3 separate regions of the Homo sapiens genome follow, and all the other regions are linked to region 2. The links are contacts of gene promoters, found by promoter capture Hi-C in human tissues and cell types (Jung and others, 2019). All regions are on one chromosome and are shown on one strand. Each heading gives the region's core, a stretch centred on a gene start or on the middle of the fragment in contact. The rest is flanking DNA. Distances are from core to core; before and after follow the strand shown.

Evidence for each region. Contacts are between HindIII fragments. The study calls those that stand out against the background at their distance.
Region 1: a fragment that was not itself captured here is called in contact with the fragment with the promoter of OR5B21 in region 2 in 1 of the 25 tissues and cell types used here (thymus).
Region 3: a contact is called between a fragment that was not itself captured here and the fragment with the promoter of OR5B21 in region 2, in 1 of the 25 tissues and cell types used here (IMR-90 fibroblasts).

Annotation. Positions count from the first base shown.
Region 1 is chr11:58,072,773-58,075,865 of GRCh38, reverse strand. The region is part of intron 2 of OR9Q1 (olfactory receptor family 9 subfamily Q member 1); the gene reads right to left. It also overlaps the pseudogene LOC100421793. Among named protein-coding and RNA genes, the nearest start is that of OR6Q1, 43 kb to the right of the region's middle. The HindIII fragment of the contact is 9,121 bases long and covers 1-3,093 here.
Region 2 is chr11:58,506,626-58,509,355 of GRCh38, reverse strand. It overlaps OR5B21 (olfactory receptor family 5 subfamily B member 21), which reads left to right and starts at 1,251. Exons shown (of 1, transcript NM_001005218.3): 1 at 1,251-2,549. The coding sequence starts at 1,251. The coding sequence ends at 2,180. All of the region lies in intron 2 of LOC105369313 (a long non-coding RNA gene), which reads left to right. The HindIII fragment of the contact is 9,451 bases long and covers 1-2,730 here.
Region 3 is chr11:58,161,509-58,164,480 of GRCh38, reverse strand. All of the region lies in intron 2 of OR9Q1 (olfactory receptor family 9 subfamily Q member 1), which reads right to left. Among named protein-coding and RNA genes, the nearest start is that of OR9Q2, 26 kb to the left of the region's middle. The HindIII fragment of the contact is 7,939 bases long and covers 1-2,972 here.

The DNA.
Region 1 (3,093 bases), core at 534-3,033, 430 kb after region 2:
AATTATTAAAAGAAGAGACTGGATCACACTGATTCTGGCCCATGATCATTGGATGCAATTACCTGCATCCCATGCCATCACTTGTCTTAGCCTCTTTAGGCTGCTGTAACAAAATGCCATAAACTGGGTGGCTTTTAAACAACAGAAGTTTACTTCTAATAGTTCTGAAGTCTAGGAAGTCAAAGATCAAGGTGCTAGCAGATTCCATGTCTGGTGAAGGCCCACTTTCTTGTTCATAGGTGGCACCTTCTCGCTGTGCCTTCAAGTCAAAGAAAGAGACCAGCAGCTCCCTGAAGCCTCTTTCAGAAAGGAACTAATTCCATTCATCAAGGTTCTGCTATCATGACCTAAGCACCTCCCAAAATTTCCACCTCCTAACACCATCACGTTGGTGATCAGGTTTCAATGTATGGATTTGGGGGGCACAGCTGCCGTGCACCCTAAACAGGTGTCTGCTGCTCATGGCAGCTCCTGAAGTTCTGTCTGCTTTAATAAAGTCTTCGCTAGAGAATAAAATCCCTAGGAATACAACTTACAAGGGACATGAAGGACCTCTTCAAGGAGAACTAAAAACCACTGCTCAAGGAAATGACAGAGGACACAAACAAATGGAAAAACATTCTATGCTCCTGGATAGGAAGAATCAATATCATGAAAATGGCCATACTGCCCAAGGTAATTTATAGAATCATTGCTACTCCCATCAAGCTACCATTGACTTTCTTCACAGAATTAGAAAAAAACTACTTTAAATTTCATATGGAAGCAAAAAATATCCCGTAGAGCCAAGACAATCTTAAGCAAAAAGAACAAAGCCAGAGGCATCATGCTACCTGACTTCAAACTATACTACAAGGCTACAGTAACCAAAACAGCATGGTACTGGTACCAAAACAGATATACAGACCAAAGGAACAGAACAGAGGCCTCAGAAATAACACCACACATCTAAAACCATCTGATCTTTGACAAACCTGACAAAAACAAGAAATGGAGAAAGGATTCCCCATTAAATAAATAGTGTTGGGAAAACTGGTTAACCATATGCAGAAAACTGAAACTGGACCCCTTCCTTACACCTTATACAAAAATTAACTAAGATGGATTAAAGACTTCAATGCAAAACCTAAAACCATAAAAAATCCTAGAAGAAAACCTAGGCAATACCACTCAGGACATAGGCATGGGCAAAGACTTCATAACTAAAACACCGAAAGCAATTGTAACAAAAGCCAAAATTGATAAATGGGACCTAATTAAACTAAAGAACTTCTGCACAGCAAAGGAAAATATCATCAGAGTGAAAAGGCAAACTACAGAATGGGAGAAAATTGTTGCAATCTATCCATCCGACAAAAGTCTAATATCCAGAATCTACAAGGAACTTAAACAAATTTACAAGAAAAAAAAACAACTCCATCAAAAAGTGGGCAAAGGATATGAACACACTTCTCAAAAGAAGATATTTATGTGGCCAACAAACATATGAAAACAAGCTCATCATCACTGGTCATTAGAGAAATGCAAATCAAAACCACAATGAGATACCATCTCATACCAATTAGAATGGTAATCATTAAAAAGTCAGGAAACAACAGATACTGGAGAGGAAGTGGAGAGTGTGGTGATTCCTCAAGGATCTAGAACTAGAAATACCATTTGACTCAACAATCCCATTACTGTGTATATACCCAAAGGATGATAAATCATTCTACTTTAAAGACACATGCACACATATGTTTATTGCAGCACTATTTATAATAGCAAAGACTATTGCAACACAATTTACAATAGCAAACCCAAATGCCCATCAATGATAGACTAGATAAAGAAAATGTGGCACATATACACCATGGACTACTATGCAGCCATAAAAAAGAATGAGTTCATGTCCTTTGCGAGGACATGGATGAAGCTGGAAGACATCATTCTCAGCAAACTAACACAGGAATAGAAAACCAAACACTGCATGTTCTCACTCATAAGTAGGTGTTGAACAATGAGAACACATGGACACAGGGAGGGAAACATCACACACCAGGGCCTGTAAGGGCATGGGGGGCAAGGGGAGGGATAGCATTAGGAGAAATACCTAATATATGAGGGGCTTAAAATCTAGATGACAGGTTGGTGGGTGCAGCAAACCACCATGGCACATGTACACCTATGTAACAAACCTGCATGTTCTGCACATGTATCCCAGAACTTAAAGTATAATAAAAAATAAAATAAAAACAAAGTCTTCGCTATCATTTTTTGGAGGTCAGTTCACCTGCAGACAGGAAACTTACAGAAAGTCGCCATTTTGGATTCTTAGCATTCTTTCTGAAGGTATTGCAAGAAATGTAACGAAACGTACAGTGTGTGCTAAGTTCTATTTGTATATTCATACTCTGTGTATAAAATAAAGATTCACACATGTAATAAAACATTGACATAAGAAGAAAAAGTCAAATGAATAAAGCAGTTGGATTTCTGCCATTTAAATTCTGTAAATTTAAAGATGCCACAACATATATTCTATATTTTGGAGAATTATGGTTTGGACCCAAACTGCATCCCTAAGAATTCGCATAATATTTATTTTAGTAGATAGATCACAGATGGACAGAGAGAGCTTATTGAGTCATACACTGTCAAAATGAGACACTTTATTGGAAATACAAGCATGGATGCCGGTTTGTCATTCATTGTGACTAATTATGGAAAAGAGAAAATGATACTGATTTTGATCCATTTGCTGGAACAGGAGGCCTCCTGATAGCATCTGCTCATTTCGATGCATATGTATATGAGACAGGCATCAACTACAACACAGTTTATGGCTCAGGAAAGGCAGGTAAGAAAAACCAGAAATGGAGAGGACCAGATGAAAACATTAGGGCAAATCTTTGTCAGTATGGTTTAGAGAAGGTAATACTTTCTCTAATACATTTTGACAAATATGATTGACCATATTAAATGTCCTGGTTTCAGATACATCTAAACTTTCCTGGAGAATGGCACATATTTTAATGCAGTAATCACTGATCCTCCATATGGTATTAAAGCATCTGCAAGAAGAATAGGTTCACAGAAGGAAATATCAAAGGG
Region 2 (2,730 bases), core at 2-2,501:
GGTTGAGGAACAAAAATAGGAGAGAAAGAATGCTCTAAAATGAGGACAGAAACCTGTCTCCAGGCCTGACCATCTGCAAACTCACTGTTACTCCTGAATATTTTTCATATGACAAGTCTAAGCTAATATTTTGGCCCAAAGCACAAACCTGGTAGACAAGAGGATGATAGGATGTTTGTTGTGGGATTAAAGAGCATGAAAAATATTTCCATACTTTCCTATTGATGTTCTGTTTGATTCACCAAATATTTACATACATGTGTGAGGGGCCATGGTAAGGAGAGTGGACCAGAGGGGATGAAGATAGTTACTGTCCCAAGGGGCTTAGAGCTAGGTGAAGAGTGAGTGGTTGCCCAGCTAATTGTGCAATAATCAGCCAAGACTCAAGTGCTTTGAGGAGGGAGAGAAAGGAGGACTTAACTGGAATTAGGGTCTACAGCAAAGACTTCTGATAAGGGGTGAAAAAAGACATATGCATATACACAGATACACAAAGCCATTTGTATATATCAAATTTATAGTTTTATATTAAATATATATAAATACATACTCATATTTACATATACCATACTCCCTTTCAGTTGAACTACTGTTGAGGGATTAATTTATAAAGGCTTCAAAAGTTGTGGTTAAGATCTTTGGATTTAGTATCAAACAGACCTTGAGGGCACCACCTTGTCCTGCCAACACCTTGATTTTGGCCCAGTGAAACTGATTTGAGGCTTCTGGCCTCCAGAATTTTGAGAGAATAAACTTGTGTTGTTTTAAGGAAAAATAAATTTAGAAAATCTTTAGTGAGGCTATATTATTGGAAGTAGAATGTGGAAGACAATAAGTGATGGATGTTTTTATTTTTAATAATTAAATACATACAATCTTATATCCACATCATAATTTGTATTTATATGATGTAAATGTGTTAAAGAATTCAAGATGAATGTATGAACTTTAGATTCAGAAATATAAAGGGGTGAACTTTGATTCTGACCCCTAGATAGGCTATCTTGCTCAATATTCAGCTCCCTGAGCCTTAACTTCCTTATCTGTAAGATGGGCATAATAGCACCTATCTCATATGAATTAAAAGCTATAATATAACAGAGGGTTCTAGGATGAGTGTTACACACAGTACATTCTCTCTATACATTAGTTTTCTCCTTTTTTATCATTCCATCCTCCCTTCTCATACTTTCATTGGAATTTTGTTGACGCCTCTTCTTTAATCACCAGGCTAATTCAAGCTGGCCACAATGGAGAATAGCACAGAAGTGACAGAGTTTATCCTCTTGGGATTAACAGATGACCCCAATCTTCAGATACCCCTCCTCCTGGCATTTTTATTCATCTACCTCATCACCCTGCTTGGGAATGGGGGAATGATGGTGATCATCCACTCAGACTCCCATCTCCACACTCCAATGTACTTTTTCCTCAGTAACCTCTCCCTTGTAGACTTGGGTTACTCATCAGCTGTAGCCCCCAAAACGGTGGCTGCATTGCGGTCAGGGGACAAGGCCATCTCCTACGATGGATGTGCAGCTCAGTTCTTCTTCTTTGTGGGGTTTGCCACTGTTGAGTGCTACCTCCTGGCCTCCATGGCCTATGATCGCCATGCAGCGGTATGTAGGCCTCTTCATTACACCACCACCATGACAGCAGGTGTGTGTGCCCTCCTTGCTACTGGTTCCTATGTCTCTGGCTTCCTCAATGCCTCTATCCATGCAGCAGGCACCTTCAGACTCTCCTTCTGTGGTTCTAATGAGATTAATCATTTCTTCTGTGACATTCCCCCACTCCTGGCTCTCTCATGCTCTGACACACGCATCAGCAAGTTGGTGGTCTTTGTGGCAGGCTTCAACGTCTTTTTCACCCTCCTGGTCATCCTTATTTCTTACTTCTTCATATGCATCACCATTCAGAGGATGCATTCTGCTGAAGGGCAGAAGAAAGTCTTCTCCACCTGTGCTTCCCATCTCACTGCTTTGTCCATCTTCTATGGCACAATCATCTTCATGTACTTACAGCCCAACTCCAGCCAGTCCGTGGACACAGACAAAATAGCCTCTGTGTTTTACACAGTGGTGATTCCCATGCTGAATCCCTTGATATACAGCCTTAGGAACAAAGAAGTGAAAAGTGCTCTCTGGAAAATACTCAACAAACTTTACCCCCAATATTAAATGTGAATGGGAAGTAGGCAAGCAATTAAGGGATAAACTTTCTCTCACACCTAAATGCCATCATGACTTTTAACGTTTGACTGGTTTCAGTTCTTTCTTCCCCAAGAACAGCGGTTACTTCTGCTATTAGAAGATGTAAAAAGCAGCACGTTGAAAGTCTTACTTAGAAAGATAATCTTATATTTAGTGAACAACAACATGGGACAGTTAAGCTTTTCTTGCTTTAGTTTCTTGACGTGGTTTAAAGCAGAAGATTGAAGCATACAAATGAATGTACCAAATTTTCCTCATCCTGTTTTTAATTGTAAGAATTTTTCATTCACTATTAAACTTGGTGTAAAGATTTCACCTTCATTTTTATCAACTGAACACACAGTATCTTTTTTATTCTTTTGTTCTGCGAGTTTGAAAGTTGGACTTTCTGAGGTAGACAAAGGATGTTTCAATATTTTAAATGATATTTGAGAGAAAGTTGTAATTTAAAGGACAAGGCACTAGATCGAGTCAGGTAGCTGACGATTAAATCTTTCCAACCCCTTACTCTCCCTTC
Region 3 (2,972 bases), core at 455-2,954, 350 kb after region 2:
TCATGACCCCTGCTCTTTCACTGATTGTAATCTTAAGGTGAGGATATAGAAAAAGAGCACCGCATGGGCAACCAGACACGTGGTTCTTCATTCCCACCGCCTGCCCCATCCCCACCACCATCCTTGACTAGCTATGTGGTCCCAGGTAAGTCTCTTATCACTCTGGCCTTCCATATCATCATCCGTTTTTCTTATTAACTCCTCAAAGCAATATGAAATAATCATAATTTGGCCACCTAAAGACAGGAACGTGGAAGGATTTAATTTTATCATTCTCTTCTCCTCCTCTTTCCCTTCCCATAAATCCCTACATGCGCATCCCCCCAACCCCTGCAAGCCGAGACAAGGTGGGGGAATATCCTCTGTCTGCAGGCTCCGGCTCCAGCGTAAGACTCTACTAGTTTGTTTTGCCCCAACACTGTCATAGCCAATCCGTGGCCAGTGTGGGTCTCCAAGGAGAGATTACTGCTGATATTGGGATTATTTATATGCAAATAGCCCCTTTCATGTAGGAAAAGAGAAGGTTTCTCTTCAATCTCCATTTCTAAAAGCTGTACACCCAGTTGGGCCATCGCTAAGAATGGTTAAGGGAGCCTGAATTCTAGTTCTGACTTGTCCCATGAGGAATCATTTATCTTCCAAGGTCCAGTTTCCTCAGTCAGAATAATGTCATGAATCACAGGCTCTGCCACCCTCGCCAGCTGTGTCCTGGGAGAACGGCCCCCTGCCCAGCTATTTACCTAGAATAGGTAGAATGGAAACTGATCCACCTAGGAAAAGGCAAGGCCCATTGTAGCCTCTAGTTTGCCCTCCCTGGAATCAGGCACTTCATCAAGTTTGTCCTTTAATCTTTAACACAAAGAAAACCTTAGGGAAAAATAACTAGGACAAGTGCACTGCCCAGAGAAGCAACTGGCACAGACAGCAAGTTGGCATGACCTTTACCAGCTCTCTGCAGCTGAGAAATTGTGGTAATTATTCTTAGCATCTGCACATGCATTTTTTATGAGTCTCAAAATGTCCAGACAAGAAAAAGGAAGAGAGCAAGGTCAGGAGGAAACTCCTTTGACAAAGGTGGAGCCAGGAAGGGGACAGGTGGGGACCATCTGCACATTCAATCATTTCTCATTTTTGATTAAGAAAGGTGGTCTAGAGACCAGGGCTGAAATTTATACACACACAGATACACACACATATTTCCTGCCTTCAAAAATTTTATACTTTACTGTTAGAGGTAAGCCATATATGTAATCAATCATTCCCATACCAGGATAAAATTCAGGGGAGATGATTTCCAAGGAAGTGGCATTTGAGCTGAACCTTAAAATTAAAATTTGAGCAAGATACTTAAAATTGCACATTCCCTATTCTTCTGACCCTGGCTTCATTTTCACCATAGGAATTGTCACCTTCTAACATAACATATGATGTACTTATTGTATTTATTGCCTATCTGATTCACCCCTCTGTAAATTCCAAACAAAGCTTCTCTCTCACTTTCTTTCCACCCCATCTTTCTTACTAGAGAAAGAGACAAAGAAAGAAAACTTGCTAAGCTCTTATATTTACAGGATACCTTTGACCTTTCAGAACAATGTCCCTTCCATTTTGTCCTCAGAAGAGCTCTGCGAAGATCCGAGAATATGTGATTCTCCCCATTCTGCTGAAACAGTAACAAAGACATGGGGTAGGAGGGATGAAGGTTACCCAAGGTCACTCACCTGACACCCACCAACTTTACAGAGATGTCATTAGTCTCTCACCTGGCATATAGGAAGCACTCAAAATATATGAATTATTATTTCATTTTTCTTATGTCACATTTTTTCAGAAAGAAGGTATTAAATAACCTTCTTAGTATTACCAGCTGGTACTGTAGTGAACATTGTTCTCACTCCTCTGCCTTTGCTGCTCTTTACAGCGTCAGAAAATAAAATCACCCTTCCCTTAGTGCCCTACCTTTTCCAAAGACCCAGAAAGGTTTTCTTCCAACTACCATAGCGTGGCATAGACAGCTTCACCAATACAAGGCTCCCTCCTATTCCTCGCTCTGAAACAATTTTAGCAGCATGGATTCATTAACCACAACCTTGCTACTGTTGCAAGTTAGAAAGCCTGAGTTTCAACACTGTGAAAACCCATTATTAGAGCGAGTCTCCTTCCATGTATGATTACAGATAATACATTCAAACAAAACGTAACATTTCCAAAAGATGAAAGGTGATTTTCTCAGAGAAGTTAGGACATTTTTACTTATAATGACTTCTTGTTACTCGTAATGAATGACAATAATGGTATGTTAGCATGTTACACAGTTACAAAGAAGGTGAGTGTAACTGTTAGGAACCTTCTTCAAGAACTCCTTTGTTTTCTTGTTTCTCTAAAATATAAATCAAAAGGTTCCACACAGGAATGGCATGAGTAAGCTATTTAGCCACCTTAACCAAGTCAGTGTGATCAGTATCCAGTTGCCAATTAGCACCTACGTGGAGCTCTATACATGCTTTAAGGAGGCGAGGAAAGCTCTGAGCAATGCTATTTTGAGGAACCTTGAGCTTGCTGTTGCTTTCTGGAGAAACAAGGAGGTTCTGATTAATTGGATATAACAGTTTGGACTCTCTAGTTTCAAGTAACAAAAATCAACCAGAGGGCCGGGTGCGGTGGCTCACGCCTGTAATCCCAGCACTTTGGGAGACCCAGGTGGGAGGATCACCTGAGGCCGGGAGTTCGAGACCAGCCTGGCTAACAGAGCGAAACCCCATCTCTACTAAAAATACAAAAATTAGCCAGGCACCTGTACTCCTAGCTACTTGGGAGGCTGATGCAGGAGAATCGCTTAAGCCCAGAAGGCAGAGGTTGCAGTGAGCCTAGACAGTGCCATTGCACTCCAGCCTGGGTGACAGAGTAAGGCTCTGTCTAAAAAAAAAAAAACAGAATAAGCCTGAGCAAAACAAAAACAAAAGGAAATTTAT